Regions from separate parts of the Homo sapiens genome. Here regions 2, 3, 4, 5 and 6 are each linked to region 1. The links are contacts of gene promoters, found by promoter capture Hi-C in blood cells and fetal thymus (Javierre and others, 2016). All regions are on one chromosome and are shown on one strand. Each heading gives the region's core, a stretch centred on a gene start or on the middle of the fragment in contact. The rest is flanking DNA. Distances are from core to core; before and after follow the strand shown.

What was found. Contacts are between HindIII fragments. The CHiCAGO score rates a contact against its expected background, and 5 or more counts as called.
Region 2: a contact is called between a fragment that was not itself captured here and the fragment with the promoter of NETO2 in region 1, in 8 of 17 cell types (megakaryocytes, M2 macrophages, naive CD4 T cells and 5 more). The highest score is 10.5, in megakaryocytes.
Region 3: a contact is called between a fragment that was not itself captured here and the fragment with the promoter of NETO2 in region 1, in 5 of 17 cell types (M2 macrophages, M0 macrophages, endothelial precursors and 2 more). The highest score is 12.7, in M2 macrophages.
Region 4: a fragment that was not itself captured here is called in contact with the fragment with the promoter of NETO2 in region 1 in 17 of 17 cell types (fetal thymus, M2 macrophages, megakaryocytes and 14 more); the score reaches 28.2 in fetal thymus.
Region 5: a contact is called between a fragment that was not itself captured here and the fragment with the promoter of NETO2 in region 1, in 1 of 17 cell types (M2 macrophages). The highest score is 10.4, in M2 macrophages.
Region 6: a contact is called between a fragment that was not itself captured here and the fragment with the promoter of NETO2 in region 1, in 1 of 17 cell types (endothelial precursors). The highest score is 5.6, in endothelial precursors.

What each region holds. Positions count from the first base shown.
Region 1 is chr16:47,142,405-47,146,469 of GRCh38, reverse strand. It overlaps NETO2 (neuropilin and tolloid like 2), which reads left to right and starts at 2,525. Exons shown (of 9, transcript NM_018092.5): 1 at 2,525-2,891. The coding sequence starts at 2,858. ITFG1-AS1 (ITFG1 antisense RNA 1) reads right to left here and starts at 2,402. Exons shown (of 4, transcript NR_110904.1): 1 at 1,976-2,402. RefSeq lists silencers at 1,995-2,324, 2,385-3,224, 3,395-3,544. The HindIII fragment of the contact is 8,905 bases long and covers 1-4,065 here.
Region 2 is chr16:48,134,667-48,138,743 of GRCh38, reverse strand. ABCC12 (ATP binding cassette subfamily C member 12) reads left to right here. Exons shown (of 31, transcript NM_001393797.1): 8 at 369-516. Among named protein-coding and RNA genes, the nearest start is that of ABCC12, 19 kb to the left of the region's middle. The HindIII fragment of the contact is 3,978 bases long and covers 85-4,062 here.
Region 3 is chr16:48,057,303-48,061,388 of GRCh38, reverse strand. No RefSeq gene overlaps it. Among named protein-coding and RNA genes, the nearest start is that of LINC02134, 94 kb to the right of the region's middle. The HindIII fragment of the contact is 7,460 bases long and covers 1-4,086 here.
Region 4 is chr16:48,113,266-48,117,428 of GRCh38, reverse strand. It overlaps ABCC12 (ATP binding cassette subfamily C member 12), which reads left to right. Exons shown (of 31, transcript NM_001393797.1): 14 at 96-168; 15 at 1,811-2,014. Among named protein-coding and RNA genes, the nearest start is that of ABCC12, 41 kb to the left of the region's middle. RefSeq lists an enhancer at 1-484. The HindIII fragment of the contact is 1,397 bases long and covers 1,749-3,145 here.
Region 5 is chr16:48,077,734-48,081,574 of GRCh38, reverse strand. It overlaps ABCC12 (ATP binding cassette subfamily C member 12), which reads left to right. Exons shown (of 31, transcript NM_001393797.1): 31 at 1-693. Among named protein-coding and RNA genes, the nearest start is that of ABCC12, 76 kb to the left of the region's middle. The HindIII fragment of the contact is 1,873 bases long and covers 1,388-3,260 here.
Region 6 is chr16:48,037,452-48,041,239 of GRCh38, reverse strand. All of the region lies in intron 1 of LOC124903686 (a long non-coding RNA gene), which reads left to right. Among named protein-coding and RNA genes, the nearest start is that of LINC02134, 74 kb to the right of the region's middle. The HindIII fragment of the contact is 3,764 bases long and covers 1-3,676 here.

The DNA.
Region 1 (4,065 bases), core at 1,276-3,775:
GAAACTGCCAGGTAATCTGGGAACAGACTGGGTGCTACTGGGTGATCTTCCAGGAAAATAATAATTCAAATACAGAACCCAAGTGAGAGATATGAAAACGCTTCCCTTTTGATTTGGCTAACATATGGCCACACAGTAGTCTCAGCTATGATCTGTGCTTTCCTACATTCCTCGAAAAATCGACTGCAGACGATTCCACCAGCACATCTAAAAAAGATAGGTGTCTTAAAAGGGAGCCACAAAATGAACATTCCCAATTGGAATCTACTCCCAAGCCAACATTCTAGAGGAAAAAAGATTTTTTAGGTTTAATCAAAATAATACAAGTAAGAGCTTCTAAAGTAAACGTAGAAGTATTACAGATCTACTTTTGGAATTCTTGTGGTTGCTCTAATCTCTCCCCTTTTATTACAACCTCAACTGCCAGATGAAATCTTCCCAGAACTCCATTACTGCACTATTAAAAGTAATCATTTACCTAACTAGCATTTGAGCACCTATCTCCATAATCAAAGCCCACCATGTCCAACCTCTTTATACCAAACACAACACTTGCCCCACGTTCCAGGCTCATCCTGCTCCCTGCCTGCTGAGCTCTTCTTCTGCCTCCTCTCCTCTCGCCACCCCAAGCATTTCCATGGTTTGTGTGTCACCTCCTTCAGGAAGTCTTCTCTGATGACATGACACGCAGATTTTTCCTTCAGTCAACAACTTCACATTAAGAAACTATTATGTTAATTTGAGAGCCCCTTCCTCTCAAATTTTTTTGGTTCACTGTTGTCTGTAACCTATACTTAATATTGTCTTCTTACTCTCCTATTCTACTAATATGCTACATCATTATTATTATTTGAGACGGAGTCTCGCTGTTGCCCAAGCTGGAGTGCAGTTCAAGCGATTCTCCTGCCTCAGCCTCCCTAGTAGCTGGGACTACAGGCGCGTGCCACCACGCCCAGCTAATTTTTGTATTTTTAGTAGAGATGGGGTTTCACCATGTCGGCCAGGCTGGTCTTAAACCTCTGACCTCGGGTGACCCGCCTGCCTCAGCCTCCCAAAGTTCTGGGATTACATGCGTGAGCCACCTTTTCATATCCGTGGGAAAAAGTTCTTAAATGTTTTATTTCCTAATTGGTTCTCGTGTGCGATCTTAACTGTAGTAGGTGGTTACCTTTAGGAACCCAAACTTACCCATCTTTTATGCCCCCATTCACAGCACATGGCAAAGGGTGAAACACCTCGATATTAATTGGTGTTAAGTATGTTTTTCCTTTGTAAATCTCATGAATTATTTATGCTTTTGTACCTTTCTTGAAGGAATACAAAGTGAGAGAGAAGAGCTTAACACCTGAAAAATGTTTCAGTTGCCTGACATTGTCTTTAGCTACAATTGGTTAGACAAACGTTTACAGAGTTCCTACTACACGCAGAGACAGGCATAAATATTCTATTATGGTAAGGCCTTGATCACGGTTGTTATCTCCAGCACCAATCATTGTCTTCTGCACATAATTAACACCCAATACGTATGTGTGGAGTGAAAAAAATGAATGCAGTCGGCCTGCCTGCAAGCAGCTGATATTTTAATGGTGTGAGGGTGAGGGAGATATAAAGGATGAACAAATAAATAAATGAGGAAGGTCATATCAGTGTGATAACCGCTGTGGAGAAAATAAAGCAGGATCATGAATACCACCAACAGCCAGGCAGTTGTTGGCAGACCTGGAGACTCCCATCAGCTGGCGAAGCTGCCCAGCGTAGTGGTTAGCTGCTAGGAGGGCAGCCCCGGGGGAGGTGCACAGCCCTGCCGCTCATTCGCTACGCGGCTCTGGACGAAGGGCTTCACCTCTCTGGCCTCGACTTTCCAATCCCCTAAAACCTACTTCATGAGGGGGAGTCTGAGGAGTTGGTACTAAAGTGCCTGTCAACCTGGCGGGCGCTAGGGAAACGCCGGCAGCGCCGCGGGTCGGGAACTCACCGGCGCGAAGGGCACGGAGAGCCTCGGGCTCCCTCTGCCGATGTCCGCGCTTCCCTGCCCAGGGTCGAGCAAGGCTGAGCTGGGCAAAGTTTTGACCTTGAATGGAGGTCTGGGGGACTAGGGACCGGCGCCCCTCTCTGTCTGCTAGGGCTGGCGGAGACCCGGCAGGCCGGCGAGGGTGCGGGGCCGAGGTGGGCGGCGCTTCCCGGGCGCCTCCGTCAGACGGGAGGCATCGAGGGCTCGGCCAGCTGCCCCGGGCGCCCTGCGCGGCGGCTGGGCACGGGCCGGTCACTGCCCCGGCGCCGGCCTCTCGGACGAGGCCGCCGCGCAGCCACGGCGAGAGGCACCCTCACTACCCCCGCGCCCAGCCGGCTCCCAGCCCTAACGGCAGCCGGCGGGGAGCGACGCCGTCCCACGGCGCGAGGCCGCGGCGGGCGCGCGAGGCGCGGCGCGGGGCGGGGCGGGGCGGGCACATGCGCACAGGCGGCGCAGCCGGCACGCGGCGCTCGCGCTCCCTCCTTAAATGAGCCTGGGCGCCCCGCGCCCGCCACTTCAGTGGATCCCGCGCCGGGGCCGCGGGCGGAGCTGCCTGCCGGTCCCGCGCCGCGCGTCCGCACTCCTCGGCCCTCGGGCGGTCGATGGGACGGGGCGCCGCGGAGCAGGAGGCGGCGCCCGTCGGGGTGCTCGGGCCGCGCGGGAGCCCACTGTGGGGCTCGGGCATGGCGGGCCGCAGGACCTGAGCTCTCCTCAGGGGAGCGGGGAGGCAGCTGCTGGCCGGCGATGGGGACGGAGTGGGGCCGTCGCCGCCGCGCCGAGCCGTGAGCGCCGAGCCACCGCCGCCGCTACCTCAGCCCTTCGCGAAGCGCCGGGCAGCTCGGGAACATGGCCCTGGAGCGGCTCTGCTCGGTCCTCAAAGGTAAGGACCGGGGCTGGGGCCACGGACGGCGCCCCCTGCGGGCCGAGGCTGGCGCGCCGCCCTGCCCGCGCCTCTGCGTCCCTTACCCGCGCCCGGGACCCGACGCGCCTCTTTGTCTGGCGGGGCTCGCGGCTACTCGGAGCGGACCGCGGGGCGCGAGCCCTGCCCGGCTCCGCCGGCTCTCCGGGCGCGCCGCTTCCGACCCCTGCGAGTCCGGCCGACGTTCGCGGGGCGCGTGTGGGAAGAGGGATCGGGTCGGGAAGGCGGCCAGGAGGCCCCTGGGCCCAGCAGGGCCCTCCGGGCTGCGCCCTCGCGCCGCTTCCGTAGAATTCCGCGCATCCCTTTGCAAAGTTGTGAGATTCCTGTCGTGGAGCGGAGGCCGCTCTTTCTCCAGATGTGATGGCAAAAAGTAATTCCACGAGAACAATAAAAGCCGCGGCCGTGACGTCGTGCAGTGGTTTTCGAATAGCCCCGCGGCGCCTGCACCTCGCGGCGGGGAACGGGGCCTGCTGGGCCAGCCGGGTCCCACCTGCTGCGGCCACGGAGGCTGCGGCACCACTGCGGGCTCCGGGGGCGGCGCGCGGGCGCCGCGGACCCGGCTTGTCCCGGCCCCCGGGGAGCGCTGCTGCTCGGGTGCTTCCCGGGACGCGGCGCTCCTCGCGCTCCGCCAGAGGTCTCAGAATTCCCCGCCGCTGGTGTTCGGTTCTTACTAATTTGTTGTACTGGGAATTAAAACAGTTGGCTTGTCCAGAGCACAGAGCTCTAAAACCTACTCCACCGGCTTTGCATTTCCCAGGAGGTGGTAATTTAGATGAAAATTTATATACATAGATAATTAGGATTGGGATACAAAGTTGCTCCTGAAACTCGGACTGAATAAATCGTCTTTTCAATTTCCAGAGGGAAAACAGCACCACCACTCAGTAAAGGACTTCCCTTTTTCCCCCTGCTGATTTAAATTGAAAGCTGACGTGTTTGTAATGTCGTAACATGTTCTTTTTTTAAAAATTTCGAGGGTACGGCTGAGGCATTATTAACGGTGTTATGTATAACTCAGCACTGTATCTTAATATTTGTAGAGTGACTTTTTTCCTGCTCCCTAACAGCACTTTTTTCAAATTTGTTTTATTAGAAAGTTCAGTGTAATTTTGCTTTTGATTTTAATTGGACACAT
Region 2 (4,077 bases), core at 824-3,323, 990 kb before region 1:
CCTCCTGCCTCAGCCTCCTGAGCAGCTGGGATTACAGGTGCAAGCCACTGCACCTGGCCACAGTGAAGGTTTTTAAAAAAAGCTTGAATTTGAATGCTCTAGGAAGTGGAATGCCTCTTCAATTTGTCAAAGCCCCCAGCACTCTCTTTGAGTCCTGGCAATTCATGCCTTTACATGACCTGCCTGACCCCCCATGGTGTTCCTCAGACAGCATCAACAGCCACAACTCAAGGGAAGAACTTGGCTGAGAATCTGAAGCCAACTTCCTTTAGAACTTTTTCTGGCACTTACACTCCCATTTCTGGATTTTTAGGCCAGCTGCAACTCAGCACTTCTCTCTGAAAACAGTGTTTGTACCTTGATTTCAGATGTTTATGGCCAAGCTCAATTCAGCTTTCCGAAGGTCAGCAATTTTGGTGACAGACAAGCGAGTTCAGACAATGAATGAGTTTCTGACCTGCATCAGGCTGATCAAAATGTATGCCTGGGAGAAATCTTTTACCAACACTATCCAAGGTAGGACAAGAGTAGCTGCTTAAAGAACCACTTACCTTGTAGAATATGCTCTTCTAAGGGGTTCTTACGGTTCCCAGGGCCAGGCATTCCAGAAGGAGGCTGAGGGGACCCTCTGAGCTGCTCTGCAGGTCAAAGAATTTTTCAAAGGATTATGGAGATTTAATAATAGAGCCAGGCATCTGTTCTGGTGAACCCAGGGGTGAGTGACATATGGTTTCTCTTTCCTGGGGCATGTGGATCCTGGTCCTGGCGAGTTACTTTTTATAAAAATAATCCACTAAAAACATTGTGAGCAGGAAAAAAGCTGTCTCCAGCTATTTACTTAACTTAGAAGACATCTACACACACATACACTCACACATCCAGGGTTACACAGACCTCTTTGCCTGCAGCAGCGTCCTTGTGTTCGGATGGTCCACTGACTCAACACTCCTTGGGCAGACACGAGGAGATGCATATGTAGTTTTACTTTTTTTAAAGCTGATATAGAAACTATTTTGATCAAATATAAATGCAAATCTAATTGCAGGGACATTTACATAATTGCTGACATAGACTCAGGTGGTTCACCAGTTAATGATCTGAACCACTGTTACAATTGACTGTCTGGATGGACAATTACACTTTTGCACCAGCATGGAATTGGGCCAAAGCTGTGTATCTGCCCTCTAGGGAGTGGCTGTAGAGAACCTGCTTCTGAGCTGGCCAAAGGAAGTGCCCCAGGTTGGGACCCCAGCAGCACTAGGGGACCCTCTTTGAAAACCCAGAAACACATCCTCACACTCTGAGTTCACTTCAGTGCAATTTAATTTGATTTGATTAAATTTGATTCCATGTGATTTCAACTTAATTTAACTTGTCGATTTAGTTCAATAAATATATATCAAGTTCCTACTTTGTGCAAGGCCATGGGAGCTACACAAATGAAATGGAAAAGTTTCCTGCTTTTATGAGTAAGGGAGGATAAGATAACTTAGCTCAAAAATAGCCACGAGTTTGTTGGCTCTACCTTCAGAGTATATCCGGAAGCCATCTGCTCGTCTCCATTCCACTCCCACCCAGTCCAAGCCAATATCCTCTCTCTCCTGGACTATGCAAGACATCTAGGCACTGCTCCTGCCTTCCCCCTCCCTCCTGCAATCCATTGTGCACTCAGCAGTCAAAGTGACCTTTAAAAGATGTCAGTCAGATCCTGTTCCTCCCCTGTTGGAAAATAGTGGCTTCTTATCACACTTAAGATTATTCAAAGTTAGGTCTTTGGAAGGAAATCCAAATTCTTTCATATGGCCTGTTAGGTCAGACATGATCTGGCCCTTGGTGACCTCTCTGACATCATCATCACACTTTACTGTAACCTTAGGAAACTCAGCTCTAGCGGTGTCTGCCTTAGTTTGTTTCTAGAACCACACGCCACACTCGTTCATGCCTCGGGATCCTTGCAATTGCTGTTTCCTTTGCCTGGAGTGCGCTCCTGCTGGATGTTTACAGTAACTTTGTCTTGACTTTAGGTCTCTTCTCAATGTCCAGAGAGGACTTCTGGGCTGCAGTTCCAAGCATGTCCATGCCCTACCTCTCAATCACTTCATCCTGCTCATTTCTTTCAGATCACTCAACACAATTTGTAATTATTTAATTGTTTATTTCTTTCTTGTCTATCTATCCCACTGGAAGAGGGCCGAGACCCTGTTCACTCCTCTATTCTCCAAACACAGGTGCAGCACCTGGCATGTAGTAGACATCAGGTTCAAATATCTTAAGTGAGTGAACACATGAATTCACGTTATTCTATGGGGGAAGATGGAGGAAGTGCCACAAGAGAAACAGAGATGCTCCATGGGGGAGCACACTGGGTTGGGGAGACTGGGAATGGCTTCCCTGCAGAAGTGGCTTTCAGGTAGGCCAAAGGGATAGGAAGGATTGGGACGCACAGAGAACTGGGGAAGCCCACTTAGGGAGGAGCAGAGGCCTGGAGGTGGAGATAAGAGGGTGCTCTTGGGGACTAGGGGGTGCTGGATGTTCTTTAGGGGAAGGGCACCTGGATAGCAGAGCTTGGATCCCAGGAGAAGTGGGCTTCGATTCTGCCCTGATCACTGAAAAGGCAAGTTTTCAGTGAAGCAAACCTGCGCAAGCAAACCTTCGAAGACAGTTTGCTCTCCTGTCAAAAAGGCATAAAATAACAGACTCTCTCTCATCATGCAGTGGTGAGGACGATCTTATGAGAAAGCACCTGTGAAGTGTTGAGCAGAGCACCTGGCATGTAGTGATCACGCCATTAGAACATCTGGAGCTGTCCTGTGTGGATATGAAAGGGCTTTTGCAGAGGAGGCTGGAATTGGGGTTGAGGACAAAAAACAGGAGGTGAAGGAGGCTTGAATGTAATTTGTGAGCTTTGCAGAGCCGTGGGCATGTTCTGGACTTAGGAAGGGGAGAATACTCTTGAGTTTTTGTGTCTATTCTTGGGACACCAGGCAGGTGCCTTCAGGCCAGCACATGTGTTTTATTTCTCCCCATACAGTATAGTATTTAAAAATGTTTTTTCATTTAGTTCCCAACATTTAAAAATAGGGAGATGTCTCAGAAAAATCTGGACCTCATGGGAGGATTGCTTGAGCCTAAATATTCGAGACTAGCCTGGGCAACATAGGGAGATCCCAACTCTGCAAAAAATTAAAAAAAAAAATTATCTGGGTGTGGTGGTATGTGCCTGTGGTCTCAGGTACTCAGGAGGCTGAGGTGGAAGGATCGCTTGAGCCTGAGAGGTCAAGGCTGCAGTGAGCTCTATCATGTCATTGCACTCCAGCCTGGGTGACGAAGCAATACTCTGTCTCAAATATAAATAAATAAATAAAAATCTGGACCTCAGACTTTGAAATGGTTGACGATCTGGTTGTTACTGGACCGAACTGTGGCCTGCTTATCTGGCACAGTAAGGCCAAATATCCACGCTGAGGTTTTGCCGCAGGAGAAAGGAGGGCCTTTATTTGCTGCGTGCCAAGCAAGGAGAATCAGGCGGCTCATGCTTAAGACCTGGCCTCCCCAGTGGCTTGCAAGCAAGGGTTTTTAAAGGCAGGGCTAAATTTCAGGAAAGCGAAGTTACAGGCAAAATCGTAACTCATACATGGAGATTATGTATTGGTTTGGCCTGAAAGGGTGGGGTATCTTTTTTTTTTTTTTTTTTGAGACAGAGTCTCGCTCTCGCCCAGGCTGGAGTGCAGTGGTGCAATCTCGACTCACTGCAAGCTCCGCCTCCTGGGTTCATGCCATTCTCCTGCCTCAGCCTCCCGAGTAGCTGGGATTACAGGCTCCCGTCACCACCCCTGGCTAATTTTTTGTATATTTAGTAGAGACGGGGTTTCACCATGTTAGCCAGGATGGTCTTGATCTCCTGACCTCGTGATCCACCTGCCTCGGCCTCCCAAAGTGCTGGGATTACAGGCGTGAGCCACCACTCCTGGCTGAGGGTGGGATATCTTAAAGTAGGCAGCTTATAAATCATGGGTAGATTGAAAGATTTTCTGATTTGCACCTGGTTAAGGAAAGGAAGCTTTGTCTAAAGATTTG
Region 3 (4,086 bases), core at 598-3,097, 920 kb before region 1:
CTGATCCAATTAGCTTAGGCTCTCAGATTCAGTTTACTCATCTGTACAAGGGGACTTATAATATCTGCCTTGCATGCTAATTAGGACCTTTGAAATAATATGGTGCCTACCACAAGACCTTGCCCATAGTAATAATAGCTCAGTTGATATTATTATTAATTTATTTATTTATTCATTTATTTTTTAGACAGGTTTTCACTCTGTCACCCAGGCTGGAGGGCAGTGGTGTGATTTCAGCTCACTGCAGCCTCCATCTCTCTGACCCAGGTATTCCTCCCACCTCAGCCTACTGAGTAGCTAGGACTACAGGTGTGTACCACCACATCTGGCTAACTTTTGTATTTTTTTTTTTTTTTTTGGTAGGGTGGATTCTCACTATGTTGCCCAGGCTGGTCTCGAACCGCTGGGCTCAAGAAATCCACCCATTTCAGGCTCCCAAATTGCTGGGATTACAGGCATGAGTCACAGTGCCTCTTGGGTATTATTTTTAGTATTATTATGAAACACAGGAAAAGACATTTGAAGGGAAAGAGGTTAGGTAATAAGTTGAGTTTTAAAAGGTGAAAGATTTATACCATCTGAAGAGAAACCAGAGTATTGAGTTGAGTTTTAGACATGTTATACTTCCTGGATATCTTAGGCAAAATGTCTAGTAGGCCAGAGGAAATAGGGGCTCAGGATTAAAGTTAGAGCCTGAAATAAAGATGTCAGGACTGGGCACAGTGGCTCACATCTATAAAAGCCCAGCTACTCCGAAGGCTAAGGTGGGAGGATTGCTTGAGCCCAGGATTTTGAGACCAGCTTGGGCAACATAGTGAGACTCCAACTCTAAATTTAAAATAAAACAGAAGGCCGGGCATATTGGCTCATGCCTGTAATCCCAGCACATTGGGAGGCTGAGGCAGGTGGATTGCTTGCACTCAGGAGTTCGAGACCAGCATTGGCAACATGGCGAAACCTCATTTCTACTAAAAATACAAAAAAAAAAAAAAAAAATTAGCCGGGCATGGTTGCACAGGCCTGTGGTCCCAGCTACTCGGGAGGCTGAGGTGGGAGGATTACTTGAGCCTAAGAGGCAGAGGTTGCAGTGAGCCAAGATTGTACCATGGCACTCCAGCCTGGGTGACAGAGTGAGATTCTGTCTAAAAAAAAAAAAAAAAAGGATGATAAAAATTCTACTCTAGGTGCAGCCTGGGTCGCCGATGGGGGGAGGTGGAGCCGGGGCCCGCGGGACCGCTGAAGCCCCCAGAGCCGCCTGAAGCGCCCGCGAGCCGCCGGCCGGGAGAGATCCGGGTCCTGAAGAGACGCGGTTTCACTATGTTACCCAGGCTGGTCTTGAACCCCTGACCTCAAGTGATCCTCCCTCCTTGGCCTCCTGAAGTGCTGGGATTACAGGAGACTGGAACCTACTGAACGACCTCTTCAGATCATTTATGATTACTTATCCAGGCTGGGATTTGATGATCCTGTGCACATACAGGAGGAGGCTACAAATCCTGACCTCGGCTGTATGATTCGATTTTATGGTGAAAAACATTGCCGCATGGATCATTTGGATCGAATCCTATTGTTTGGCATCAATAATGTACGCAAGGGAAAGACTCAGCTGCATAAGTGGGCTGAGCGCCTAGTTGTCCTCTGTGGTACCTGCCTTATCGTTTCCTCAGTGAAGGATTGTCAAACTGGAAAGATGCACATTTTGCCTCTGGTTGGTGGAAAGCCGCCTGCCTTGGCCTCCCAAAGTGCTAAGATTACAGCCTCTGCCCGGCCACCACCGCACCTGGGAAGAGGGGAGCGTCTCTGCCTGGCCGCCCATCGTCTGGGATGTGAAGAGCACCTCTGCCCGGCCGCCCATCGTCTGGGATGTGAAGAGCACCTCTGCCCGGCCGCCCCGTCTGGGATGTGAGGAGCGCCTCTGCCCGGCCACCCCGTCTGGGAAGTGAGGGGCACCTCTGGCCGGCCGCCCCGTCTGGGAAGTGAGGAAGCCTCTGCCTGGCCGCCCATCGTCTGGGATGTGAGAAGTGCCTCTGCCCAGCCGCCCCATCTGGGAAGTGGGTGCCTCTGCCCGGCCGCCCCGTCTGGGAGGTGAGGGGTGCCTCTGCCCGGCTGCCACCCCATCTGGGAGGTGAGGAGCCCCTCTGCCCGGCCGCCCTGTCTGGGAGGTGGGGAGCACCTCTGCCCGTCTGCCCATCGTCTGGGAGGTGAGGAGCGCCTCTGCCCGTCTGCCCATCGTCTGGGAGGTGAGGAGCGCCTCTGCCTGGCCGCCACCCCTTCTGGGAGGTGAGGAGCCCCTCTGCCCGGCTGCCCCGTCTGGGAAGTGTATACAACAGCTCTGAAGAGACAGCGACCATTGAGAACGAGCCATGATGACGATGGCGGTTTTGTCCAATAGAAAAGGGGGAAATGTGGGGAAAAGAAAGAGAGATCAGATTGTTACTGTGTCTGTGTAAAAAGAAGTAGACATAGGAGACTCCATTTTGTTCTGTACTAAGAAAAATTCTTCTGCCTTGGGATGCTGTTAATCTATAACCTTACCCCCAACCCCCTGCTCTCTGAAACATGTGCTTTGTCCACTCAGGGTTAAATGGATTAAGGGCGGTGCAAGATGTGCTTTGTTAAACAGATGCTTGAAGGCAGCATGCTCCTTAAGAGTCATCACCACTCCCTAATCTCAAGTACCCAGGGACACAAACACTGCGGAAGGCCGCAGGGACCTCTGCCTAGGAAAACCAGAGACCTTTGTTCACGTGTTTATCTGCTGACCTTCTCTCCACTATTATCCTATGACCCTGCCACATCCCCCTCTCTGAGAAACACCCAAGAATGATCAATAAATACTAAAAAAAAAAAAAAAAAAAAAAAAAAAATTCTACTCTAAAGATCCTGTTTTATTATTTCAAAAATAAAACAAAAAATATGTCAGGGTTATCTACACAGAGGTGACAGCAGAAACTCAGGCAGGTGGATGATATTGCCCAGGGAAAACACATAGAGAAAGGAGAAAAGGAGTTCAAGAATGGGTTTGGGTTTGGTATCAGTCAGGACTCTGGTTATAAGTGACAGAACCCCAAATCAACCGGCTTAAGCCAAAAAAAAAGGGGGGGGGCGGGGAGGGAGAAATGTTTATTGATTCAAAATAACCAAAGGTACAGACGAAAGTATACATCGTTTTATATATGATTACCTGGTTGAATCCAGGGGGTCAAAAGATGTCATGAGGCCGGGCGCGGTGGATCACGCCTGTAATCCCAGCACTTTGGGAGGTCGAGGCGGGCGGATCACGAGGTCAGGAGATCGAGACCATCCTGGCTAACACGGTGAAACCCCGTATCCAGTAAAAATACAAAAAACTAGCCGGGCGTGGCGCCGGGCGCCTGTAGTCCCAGCTACTCGGGAGGCTGAGGCAGGAGAATGGCCTGAACCCAGGAGGCGGAGCTTGCCGTGAGCCGAGATTGCGCCACTGCACTCTAGGCTGGGTGACAGAGCGAGACTCCGTCTCAAAAAAAAAAAAAAAAAAAAATGTCATGAATGCCATGAGGATTCTCCACTCTGCCTTCCCAGGATGGCTTAATTCTCAGGCACCTTCTCCCTGTGTCGCAGCAAAGATGGCCCCTGAGCTTCATTCTGTCAGTTTAGAAATCTCAGCAGAGGCCAAGCACGGGTGGCTTACGCCTATAATCCCAGCACTGTGGGAGTCCGAGGCGGGTGGATCAGTTGAGACCAGGAGTTTGAGACCAGCCCGGCCAAACATGGTGAAACCCCGTCTCTACTAAAAATACAAAAATTAGCTGGGCGTGGTGGCACACACCTGTAATCCCAGCTACTCAGGAGGCTGAGGCGGAAGAATCCCTTGAACCCGGGAGGCGGAGGCTGCAGTGAGCCAAGATCGTGCCACCGTACTGGAGTCTGGGCGACAGAGCAAGACTCAGTCTCAAAAAAAAAAAAAAAAAAAAAAAAAAAAGAAGAAGAAGAAGAAGAAAAAGAAAAATCTCAGCAGAAAGAGAACATGTCTTTCCCAGCAGGCCAAAGCCCTCCGCCTTCCTACAACTTGTTTTTTTTTTTTTTTTTTGTAAATAAAGTTTTATT
Region 4 (4,163 bases), core at 1,198-3,697, 970 kb before region 1:
GCCCCAGCAACACCAGCAGCGCCTGTGGAAGCAGCCCAGGGCAGCAGTGCTTGGGGTCTTTCTCACCCAGCTACTTCTGAGCTTTGCACCAACAGGTATCAGCACACAGTCCGCGTCTGTGGCCTCCAGAAGGACCTGAGCAACCTCCCCTATGGAGACCTGACTGAGGTGAGCGGGGCTGGGAGCGCAAGCCCACTGTAGCTGCACACAGTACATTTGCTCAGGTCCAAAGGGCTGAGGCCAGCAAGCCCCTGTTCCACATCCAGATGCCCCAAGGACGTGTGGGCAAAGCTCAGGTTCCACCCATTCTGAATTCTTCCTCTGGATCTATACTTGCTGGATGTCATAGTGGACGTGGCACCAAGCTTACTGGTGTTTGGCACAGTGTAGTCACTTCTTGGGGCTACTCCCAATCTGCCTGTCGTCTCAGGAAGGGTTTCTGGTGAAAACTGCTTCCTCATCCCAAGGGCTGGCTCTGTCCTGCAAACCAGGGCCCCTTCTTGCCTCACTGGCTCTGCCCAGGCCAGGAGTATGGGGGTCACCTCTAAACATTGCCCCCTGGGGTGCTTGTCCAAACGGGCTGAGCCTGCCACCCCATCCTGGGCTGAGCCTGCCACCCCAAGAGACCCAGGGGAGTCACCTTGCCATCTCGGGTCCCCACCCTTCTTGTGCTCTCTGCACAATCTTCCTCACCTTGCCCAGGAGCCCCAGAGGAGATCAGAAGGCTAAAGCTTTCTGAGGAAAGGCAGTTTGGGGTGTCTTTCTCTACTGGTGCCCTCAGTCTGCATCCCCAAGGAAGTGGCCGTGAAGCCTTCCTGGCCTGCATCTGAGACCTCCCACACTGCAGCCCTGGTTCACCCTTCCAGGCCATGCTCCTACCTGCCTGCCAAAGTGTCCACTCACTTCCTAGCCTCTAAGTCTCTGCTCCTGTGACATCACTATCCTTTGAGTTTCAACCCAAAATCTGCCTCCTCAAGGAAGGCTTTCCCAAGTCCCACCACCTGAATAATTTGCCACAAAGTACTCTACTGATGCTCTTCAGCAGGCGCTTGTGAAATTCTGCTTGCTGCTGCTATTATGTACATAACTACCCTGCCCACCGTGGAGCTCCCCAGGGAGAGGGGACTTCTCTTGTCCAGCTTGTGTGTCCCGCCCCGTGCCTAACTCAACATCTGGCTGAACACCTGGGGTTCACTTTGGGTTCCATTGGATAGAATCACCTACAGCAAGCAATCATCCTTTCCATAAATATTTACTGAGCACCTATTCTGTGCCCAGCATGGTGCCAGGCCTTAGGGTGGTGATGATGAACCAGGAAGTCAAGGCTTATCTCTCCACAGTGCTTAGAGTTGCCTAGGGATGGGATAGTTGCTCTACAAGTAAACAAAATAGGGAACTCGCTTTTCCATCTGCACCCAGCCACGTTTCCCTCTGGTTCACTGCTGCATTCTCCCCAGCTCTCTGCTCACACAATTCCCTTTGGTGATAAAAATGACGTAGCCCCTCCCTGTGGGATCTGCATTGGGCTGGGGTCTTGTGAGATGGGCACCCCTCAATCCTCATGGGAAAGAGCTTTGCCCTCGTTGCCGCTGCCCACTGGGCTTCCTGGAGAGGTAGACAAGTGGAGCACTTCCACTCACCACAGAGTCTCGTGTGACCGGGGGCCCTGTAAGGGGCGGAGGAACTTGGATATGGCGAGGATCAGTGTGTACGTCTTTCCCCTGAGTCCTGAGAAGCTCCAGGAAGCTTCCATTGCCCAAGAACTTCAGGGTGGGCTGACAATGGGCAGTAGCATTGTCCCTGTCCACAGATTGGGGAGCGGGGCCTCAACCTCTCTGGGGGGCAGAGGCAGAGGATTAGCCTGGCCCGCGCTGTCTACTCCGACCGTCAGCTCTACCTGCTGGACGACCCCCTGTCGGCCGTGGACGCCCACGTGGGGAAGCACGTCTTTGAGGAGTGCATTAAGAAGACGCTCAGGGGAAAGACAGTCGTCCTGGTGACCCACCAGCTACAGGTGATGGGACATGCAGGATCCAGGAGGTCACGGGATGGGTGTGGCTGGGGATCTGATGCTCACAGAGCCTCCTCTTCTGCCTATATCTGCCTGTCTTCAGCTGGGAATGTGGGGAGGGAGCCAGGGATGCAAGAGACACTCATGATTCCCCAGCCTTCCTGGCTCCCAGGAGGCCCACCTCTTCCACTCCATGCATGGCCTCAGTGGGGCCAAGACTTTTCCTGCACCAGAGGGTAGATTCTCTAGAAGCAATTGAGTCCTGCCTGTGGGTGGATTGGGGCACCCTTCCCCAAGTTCTGGGCGCCTGGTAAGATGGGGAGCCAGGGAAAACAATGACGGCCCCACCCTTACTCCAGCAATTCTGGGCAAGCCTGAGGCCAGGGATACCTTGACTGGGGGTGTCAGGGGGTGGTAGACCTCTTGGATGAGGGGCCCAGATGCCCCAGGTATCACACCCCAGGGGAAAGGGGCTTGAAGCCAGGACTTTGGGACTAAGGCTGAGGCTTTGGGGAAGCTCTCTCTGCTCAGGGCCACTGTCTCAGGCTAAGGAGCATGAATCTCACTGAAGAAAGCGACTGGGCTTGACCTCAGTGAATTTAAGAATTTGGCAGAGTGGGAACAGCCCTCACTGCATTGGTCTCACATAAGGCGTCCTGATTGCCTGATGGGAATCCAAGAACCTCCTCCTCCCAGGCCAGGTTTCCCTGCTTCCAGACCATCTCCCTCTCTCTTCTTTGTAGGGAATCCCCAGAGATGTGTGGGGGAAGGGGGGGCAGTGCATGTGTGTGCACGTGTGTGTTCATGCGTGCACGTGGGTGTCTCCTTGCCCGACGAGAGATTCCTTGGGATTGACTTATGTTGAAAGGCCTATTGGAGCAGGAGAGCAAGTGTCCCGTCTTCTTTACTCTCCTGCTACCTGCAGAGAACATGTTACATAAGGGCCTGGTCTGGGGGCAGGAAGCAGGTCTTTGCAAAGGTAAGTCAAGCTGGGGTGGAGAGGGAGGGGCAATAGCAGCAAATAAAGTTGCCATGGCTATAGGATGCTGCAGCCAGCATTTTAGGACCCTCCAGTAGTGGCCAGGAGGACCAGCCTAAAGAGGGTGTTCCTCGAAGACCCTGTAAAACCAAGCTTTCCCATTGCTGTGATGCTGCCCCTAGCCTGAGCTCACCTTTGCCCAGGGCTAGAGTTCTGGTCCCGGAATAAGCTCCAGGCATCCGAATTTTGCGCATGGGGATTGTCTGGATTTCCTCTGAGTGGGCCTGAGCACCTCCAGGAAGCATCATGCTGGGCTGGTGTGGGCAAGAGCTCCTAGTTCTTCTTCTGGCCTAGTTCTTCTTCTGAGTTAGGATGGAGGACAAGGTTGGATTTCTTCAAGACCCTCATGAGGTGACAGAATGGGCTCTGGCCCAGTCTGGATGCTAAACCTGGCAGCCCTAGCTCTGCACCTGGAATATCCCTGGAGACACCCTGCAGCAGGGAGGGCTGTCCTCCAAGGGCTCTGGGGATCTGGAGGGGGATGCCTCATCCCTGACAGATGTGGGTCATGGCTGTCCCTCCAGGAGTCCTCATGAGGGGAATCATAACCTTGGTCCTGGTTCGGTCTTTGAAACTGACTGAGCCGCAGTATGACCTCAGGCAGGAGCCATCTTCACACCAGGTCCATCTCCTTAGATTCCACCTTCCCGTGTCATTTTATCCAACTTTTTGCAAGTTGGAAGAGGCAGGTAGCCACCAGGTGGCACAAGATCTTGGTCCTGCTGTGCCTTGTCAGGGAGAATGGAACTTAGAGCCCCAGAACTGCGGCCCGGGGCTTTTCCAGAGCCTATCCCCTCTGCTCTTACTCCCAGGCCCACAGGCAAGCATCTTAGTGGTTGGGGTGGATGATCGCTCTTCTAAGGAAACCACTGAAATCCAACCCAGGTGCAGATTTGGTGACGGCTTGCAGAACAAAGCTGCTCAAATCTGCCTCATATCTCTGGAGTGAACTGGGGGCTTGCTGACCAGAGGGGGCTTCCCCGGGAGCTCCTGGAGCTGGAGCGTGTGCTGTGGCTATGGGACTGGAACAGGCTTATGGTGTCTCAGTTTCCCCATCTGAAAAATCAGCTGATAAGACAGGGAGCTGGGCAGTTAGTGGGAGGGAGGCATGAG
Region 5 (3,841 bases), core at 1,075-3,574, 940 kb before region 1:
GGTTAGTAACTTATCTACAGATGCCCAGGAAGGAAGGGACAGAGATAGGGCTTGAACCCTAACCAGTCTGGCTCCACAGGCCCTGCTCCCAACCCCTTCACAACAAAGCCCCTCCAGTCCTTTCCCCTTGGCCTGTTGCAAGGACAGTGATGGTCATCAGTATCATCCCTGGGGGAGAGTGACTTCTGAGGGTTTGGCTGTTTGCATGTATAAGACACGAAACCATCTTAGCAAACCCCTCTCCCACCCCAACCCCTTGCTATCACTGCCATGTCAGCCAAGGGGAGACTATGTAGAATAATAGTAGCCATTTAGCCAAATTCCTCAAAGCACAGGCTTAGGTTATTAAATCCTGAACATATCCCTGTGGGGTAGGTGTCTGCTATGATCTGAACATTGTGTTCCCCCAAAATCCTCCTGTTGAAACATAATCCTCAGTGTGACAGTATAGAGGTAGGGCCTTTAGGAGGTGATTAATTAGGTCATGAGGGTGGAGACCTCATGAATAGGATTGGCTCTCTTATAAAAGAGACTTGGGGAAGCTTGTTCACCCCTTCCTCCATGTGAGGACACATAGAAGGCATCATCTGTGAGGAATGGGCCCTCACTCAACACCAAATCTGTTGGCACCTCGACCATGGATTTCCCAGCGTCCAGAACTGTGAGCAATAAATTTCTGTTGTTTATAAATTACTCAGTCTAAGATATTTTATTATATCAGCCTGAATAGACTAACACAGTACAAGTGTTATCCTTATATTACTGATGAGGAAACTGAGGCATCAAGAAAGTAACTTGACCAAGGTTAGCCACTGGTGAGATTTGAATCCAGGCAGGTTGACTCTAAAAAGTGTGCTCCTCCAGGAGTATGAGACCAGCCTGGGCAACAAAGTGAGACCTCGTCACTACAGAAATACATACAATAAAAATAAAACATGTGCTGTTAAATTCCATGCAACACTGCTAGAAATGCAATCCTCCTGGTGAGAAAGAGCAGTGCCTGTGTTGTAAAGCCTGAGTACTGGTCTGGGTAGACTCAGTTATGCTGCAGTAACAAAAGACCCCAGACCACACTGGCTTATTTCTTGCTTATGTGACACATCCATCACAGGTGAGCTGTGACTGTGCTTATCCTCTTCACTCTGTGACCCAGCGGAGCAGAGCAGTCTCTGCCAGGAACATCATGTTTTGTGGTAGAGGGCAGGCAGACATGGCAATCGGAAGTGATACATGCTACTTTCATCCACATTTCATGGGCAAAACAAATTGCCTGGCTGCTCCTGAGTTCAACAGTGTGGGTAGTGGTGGTGGTATATACCCTACTCCACAGGGAGGGCCACCATAAGGCACAAGGACCAAGCTTATTCCAGCAGGAGTTGTATAAGCTTCCTCTTTGGAGGGGCAGCAAATATTTTGAACAATACAACAACCTACTATAGCCTGGGTTGGGATCTTCATTCTGCCACTGAGTGGCTGTGTGATATGGGGAAAGTAGCTTGCCTTCTCTGAACCTCCATTCCATCTGTAAAATTTGGACAAAGTGCTAAGGTCTTTTTCATTCTTGACTTTCAATATAGGAGAAACAAAAAAGGAGATATGAAAACAGTTTCTATTGGAATTTGGGCATTCAGAGGGGATTAGAATGCCCTATAAATGTAATTAAATGTTTTTGTTGTTGTTGTTGCTGTTGTTTTGAGATGTCACCCAGGCTGGAATGCAATGGCGCAATCTCGGCTCACTGCAACCTCCACCTCCCAGGTTCAAGAGATTCTCCTGCCTCAGCCTCCTGAGTAGCTGGAATTACAGGTGTGCACCACCATGCCTGGCTAATTTTTGTATTTTTAGTGGAGACGGGGTTTTACCATGTTGGCCATGCTGGTCTTGAACTCTTGACCTCAAGTGATCCGCCCACCTCGGCCTCCCAAAGTGCTGGGATTACAGGCGTGAGCCACTGCGCCTGGCCTTGAAATTTTTATTCTCATTTATTTCAGTGCCCCAGCTTTGCTGTGCTCTGATATCATCTGCCTTTTGGGTGATCATATGCTCAATGTTATGAATTAGGACCTTTTGAATAGTAGATGCCAACAGAGAATGGAATAAGCCACTTACAAGCATGTGGTTATAAATTGGTAACAAATTGCCTGTGACTTGTTTCATCAACACTTGTATCCTGGAGCTAATTTTGAGGCTACCTGGTCTAGAAAAAGTGTGGACAAATTAGCCCATAGGCCAAATCCAGCCAGCCCACCTGTTTTTATAAATAAAATTTCATCAGAATGCAACCATGCTCATTTGTTAATTCATTACCTATGACAGCTTTCACATTCCAACAGCAGAGTGGAGTGATTGTGACCAAATGTATATCCTCAAAGCCCAAAATATTTACTATCTTGTTCCTTTACAGAGAAAGGTTGCTGTCTTCCGATTTGGGGCATTGGCGTGGGATATGATTCATATGAGGGGGAAGTCTGTTGGTTGTCGGGATGGGGTCTGGAAGGCATACCCTCCCGTTGCCTGGTCTATCTGGGGAGTCAGCAGCCTCGTGTGAGCATGAAGGAAGCAAGACAGAAGGACAGAGCACAGGGACTTGCTTACTGCACGGAGCTGCTGATATACCAACCCTGAAGTCACCCTACCTCTTGTCTTTTTTTTTTTTTTAATTGTAGATTCAGGGGGTATGCATGCAGTTTTGTTACATGGGTATATTGTGTGATGCTGAGATTTGCGCTCCTGGTGTGCCCATTACCCAAGTAGTGAAAACATACCCAATAGTCAGTTTTTCAATCCTTGTTCCCTCCCCACGTTTGGAGTCGCCAGTGTCTGTTGTTCCCATCTTTATGTCCATGTGCACCCAATGTTTAGCTCCCACTTACAAGAACATGTGATACTTGGTTTTGTTTCTGCGTTAATTCACTTAGAATGATGGCCTACAGCTGCATCCATGTTGCTGTAAAGGACATGATCTTATTCTTTTGTATAGCTCCTTCTTCTTGTCCTGTTATAGAGGATACATTTTCCTTGTTGTTTAATCCAACTCTAGTTGGTCTTGCTGTTACTTGCAGCCCAAAGTGTTGTAAACAACACAGAAGAGTCATATTCTCCTCTTGCCTGGGAAGATGCTGATCCTCACCTGAGGAAGAAAGAATCCCAGTCCCCGCACTGCGAGTTACACCGTCTCCCTCCCACTCAGATGTGGCCCAAGTGAGCCAGTTCACATTGAAGCAGGGAGGAGTTTCCGATTCTCATCTGTCCCCCAAGCTTCACGCAAATTATAAATATTCCCCTTGCCTTCCCTCCCTACTGCTTAAGATCAGAAAGACCCAGAGAGAACTCACAGATTTTATTCTTGCTGTTCAAGTGAACAGATCTGAAATTGGCCCAGAATTGTTGGTAAAATATGAAATGTTCTTTGCTAAGAGCTGGAATCACTTTGGCCAGTACAGCATGATTCAAAATGAATTGGAAAAGGCAGGAGTTCAGTTTTGGGTCAGATGGACGATCAAAGAAATCACTTTTCTTTTGGCCCTGTGTAGAAGGTCACTTCTGGGTAAGGCCAAATCAAGCATTAACGTCTTCAAATAAATGTCAATTTCCATGGAGAAGCCCTGCCTAACTTCATGATGTGCACGTTCCTGGCTTCAGCTGAGAGCTTTCCCTCTGCCGAGACCAGCATTCAAGGACCAGACCAAGTCAGTTTCTATTGTTTTAGCACAAACCTGCCTCCTTCACCTGGCAAGAGCCACACTCAAAGAAGCCTCAGCGTGGTTTGTGGCAATTGTTCTGCATTGCTCTAAATAATTTTTTTTATTATGGTAAAATGGAAATAACAAAACATTTACCA
Region 6 (3,788 bases), core at 545-3,044, 900 kb before region 1:
TAGCCTCTCTGTCTCAGTGTCCTCATCTATAAAGTGGGAACAATAATAGAACCTATCTGATATAGTTCGGATATTTGTCTCCACCCAAATCGCATGTTGAAATGTAATCCTCAATATTGGAGGTGGAGCCTTGTGGGAGGTGTTTGGATTATGGGGCCAGAGTCCTCATGAAAGGCTTGGGCCATCCCTCAGTAATAAGTGAGCTTTAGCTCTGAATTCACACGTGATCTGGTGGTTTGAAAGTGTGTGGCATGGCTGGATGTGGTGGCGCACACCTACAATCCAAGCTACTCGGGAGGCTGAGACAGGAGAATTGTTTGAATCCAGGAGGTGGAGTTTTCAGTGAGCAGAGATCACACCACTGGACTCCAGCCTGGGTGACAGTGTGAGACTCTGTCTAAAAAAAAAAAAAGGCCGGGCACGGTAGCTCACACCTGTAATCCCAGTACTTTGGGAGGCCGAGGCAGGTGGATCACCTGAGATCAGGAGTTTGAGGCCAGCCTGGCCAACATGGTGAAACCCCGTCTCTACTAAAAATATAAAAATTAGCTGGGCATGGTGGTGGGCACCTGTAATCTCAGCTACCCGGGAGGCTGAGGCAGGAGGGAGGAGAATCATTTGAACCCAGGATGCAGAGGTTGCAGTGAGCCGGGATGGTGCCATCGCACTCTAGCCTGGACAACAGACTGAGACTCCATCTAAAAAAAAAAAAGAAAAGAAAGTGTGTGGCACCTCTCCCCACTCTCTTTCTTGCTCCTGCTTGGCCATGTGACATGCCTGCTCCCCCTTCACCTTCTGCCATGATTGTAACTTTCCTGAAGCCCCCCCAGAAGCTGAGCAGATGCCAGCACCATGCTTCTTGTAAAGCCGCGGAATCACGAGCCAATTAAACCTCTTTTCTTTACAAATTACTCAGGCTCAGGTATATCTTTATAGCAATGCAAGAACTGCCTAATACACTACCTTGTAAGGATGCTATGAGGATTAAAAGAATCAATACATATAAAGCACACAAAACTTGTATTTTCATCAAAGTGTGAGTGAGTGGCAAAAAATGATTACACACCCCAGAACAAGGGACCCAATCTGTCTGCGACTGAAGAGTCACTTCTGCTCAAAGACAATTTGAAACCTAAAAGGTAATTCCTCTTCTATCAGTTTTTCACCCTTAAAGAGGAATAGTAACTCCACATCAGAAAGATGTTTCTCTTTTCCTTTCCCAAAGAGAAAGAAAAAAGAACTTTATAAAATCAAATTCATGTTTCATCAAGAAATTAAAAGACAAAATTAGACAGGCAGTCCAGAATGAGGTAGAATTCATCAATATTCTGAGAGGGATAGAAAGTTGAAGAGATAGTAGAGTCATTATAATAGATTTAAACACCCACCACGAAGAGAAATTACTAATGGGTGAATGTAGGTATAATTTAATGCTTGCGTTTTTTAGAAAAATCCAAAAATGACAGGTCTGTAATTTTGACTTCAGTAGAGGAGGTAATGGAAATACCGTTCAGGCTTGGAGAAGCAGAGTGCTATGAAAGTTATTACTTAATTAGAGATTGTAAGCACAGATTCAAACGAGGGAAGAATTTTCATTGTGTTTGCAGTAGGTTTGTTGGCATTGCAAAGAAATGAAGAGGCAGCCGGGAAGTGAGCTAACAACTTCTCCGAGTGGGACTACCTGAAATCCAATTCAGGGTGAGAATCTAGGGCCCTGTGCCCAAGGAAACCTTCCCTGCAAGCTGCCTTTATCATCTAGCGCCCTTGGTGCTGGTCTCAGCAGAAACAATGACATCTTCAAAAATAGGAAGGAAAAGGACAAAACTGAGCAGTGATTTTCATGTTTTAGGAAATGACCTCAAAAGGAAGAGATTAAATGAATGTCGAAGGGATTGTAGTTTTGATAGGACAATCAGGATCTATTATTAAAGCATCAGGTTGAGGCTTCGGAGCCAGGAAGTGATGTTGCCCTTCCTGGGGGTCTGTAGGAAGAGATGTCATGACAGTCCAGCAGACAATGCCAGAAACGTTGGGGAGATGGTACACTTAGGATGGAATTTATGGCTATTTTGCCCACTGTCTCCACAACACAACACATCACTGTGAGTTATATTGACATTAACAATATAACTCAAACATGGGTTTTGGTTGTCACAGAAGGTTTTGGCACTAAATCTCTTTAAAGAGAAATGAGGATTTCATGCAAAATTCATGATGTCTGGGAAGCCCTCTTCATTAAAATGGTGGGAAAAAGCATAGAAGGCTAGGAAGTGGCTGGTTGACATCACTATTTTTCCAAGAGTGGGCTTTTAAAAAGGGCTTTAAAAATGGTTATTTCCAGGCCAGACGTTTTCTCACATTTTCTCTCAGAGGATTACAAAAAGGGTGGCTCACCAGCCCCAAATTTTATTTCATTCACTCTTAGTTGAAAAGGGAAAGTAAATCACACACTGTGTATTCCATGGATGTCTAATTGGCACCAGGACAACCTGGTCTGTCCACAAACCATGGGGTCCCATGCCCAGAAGTATTTTTAGGTTGAAGGACAGCAATCTTTTCCCTCTTTTATTATTATTTTTTAACTGATACATAATAATTGTATATATTTATGGGGTAGAGTATGACATTTCAATACATGTATACAATATGTAATGATCAAATCAAGGTAATTAGTATCTCTGTCACTTCAAATATTAATCTTTTTTGTGTTTGGAACATTCAGAATCTGCTCTTGTAGTTATTTGAAAGAAAACAATAAACTGTTGTTAACTATAGTCACACGACAACGCTATAGAACACTAGAACTTTTTCTCCTATCTAGCTGTAATTTTGTATCTGTTAACCAATGTTTAGCTACACCTCTGCCACTTCCCAACCTCTGGTAACCAGTATTCTACTCTCTACTTTTACGAGATCAACTTTTTTGGCTTCCGCAAAGGAGTGAGAATATGCAGCATTTGTCTTTCCTGGTTTGTTTCACTTAACATCGTGAATAAAGGTTCACCTGTGTTGCCATGAATGACAGGATTTCATTATTTTTATGGCTGAATAGTATTCCATTGTGTATATATACCACATTATTCATTCACCTGTTGATGGGCACTTAGGTCGATTCTATATCTTGGCCACTGTCAGCAGTGCTGTAACAAACATGGGAGTGCAGAGAACTCCTTGACGTACTGATTTCCTTTCCTTTGGATATACACCTAGAAATAGGACTGCTGGATCATATAATAGTTCTATTTTTAGTGTGTGAGGACCCTGCATACCATTTCCATAATAGCTGTGCTAACTAATTTACATTCCCACCAACACCGTGTAAGAGTTCCTTTTTGTCTGTATCCTCAGCAGCATTTGTTATTTGTTTGTGTTTTTGAGAATGGCCATTCTAATTGGGGTGAGATGATGTCTCATAGTGGTTTTGGTTTGCATTTACCTGACTATTAGTGATGTTGAGCATTTTTTAACACATCTGTTGGCCATTTGTATGTCTTCTATTGATAGAAGTCTATTCAGCTCATTTGCCCATTTTTAAATCAGATTATTTGTTTTTTCTATTGAGTTGTTTGAGTTCTGGATTTTAATCCCTTGTCAGATGAATCATTTGTGAATATCATCTCCCATTCTACTGTTGTCCCTTCACACTGTTGATTGTTTCCTTTGCTGTGAAGAAGCTTTTTTAGTTTAATGTAATCCCACTCATCTATTTTTTCTTTTGTTGCCTGTGCTCTTGAGGTCTTTTTCATAAGACCTTTGCCCAGACCAATGTCCTAGAACATTTTCTCTGT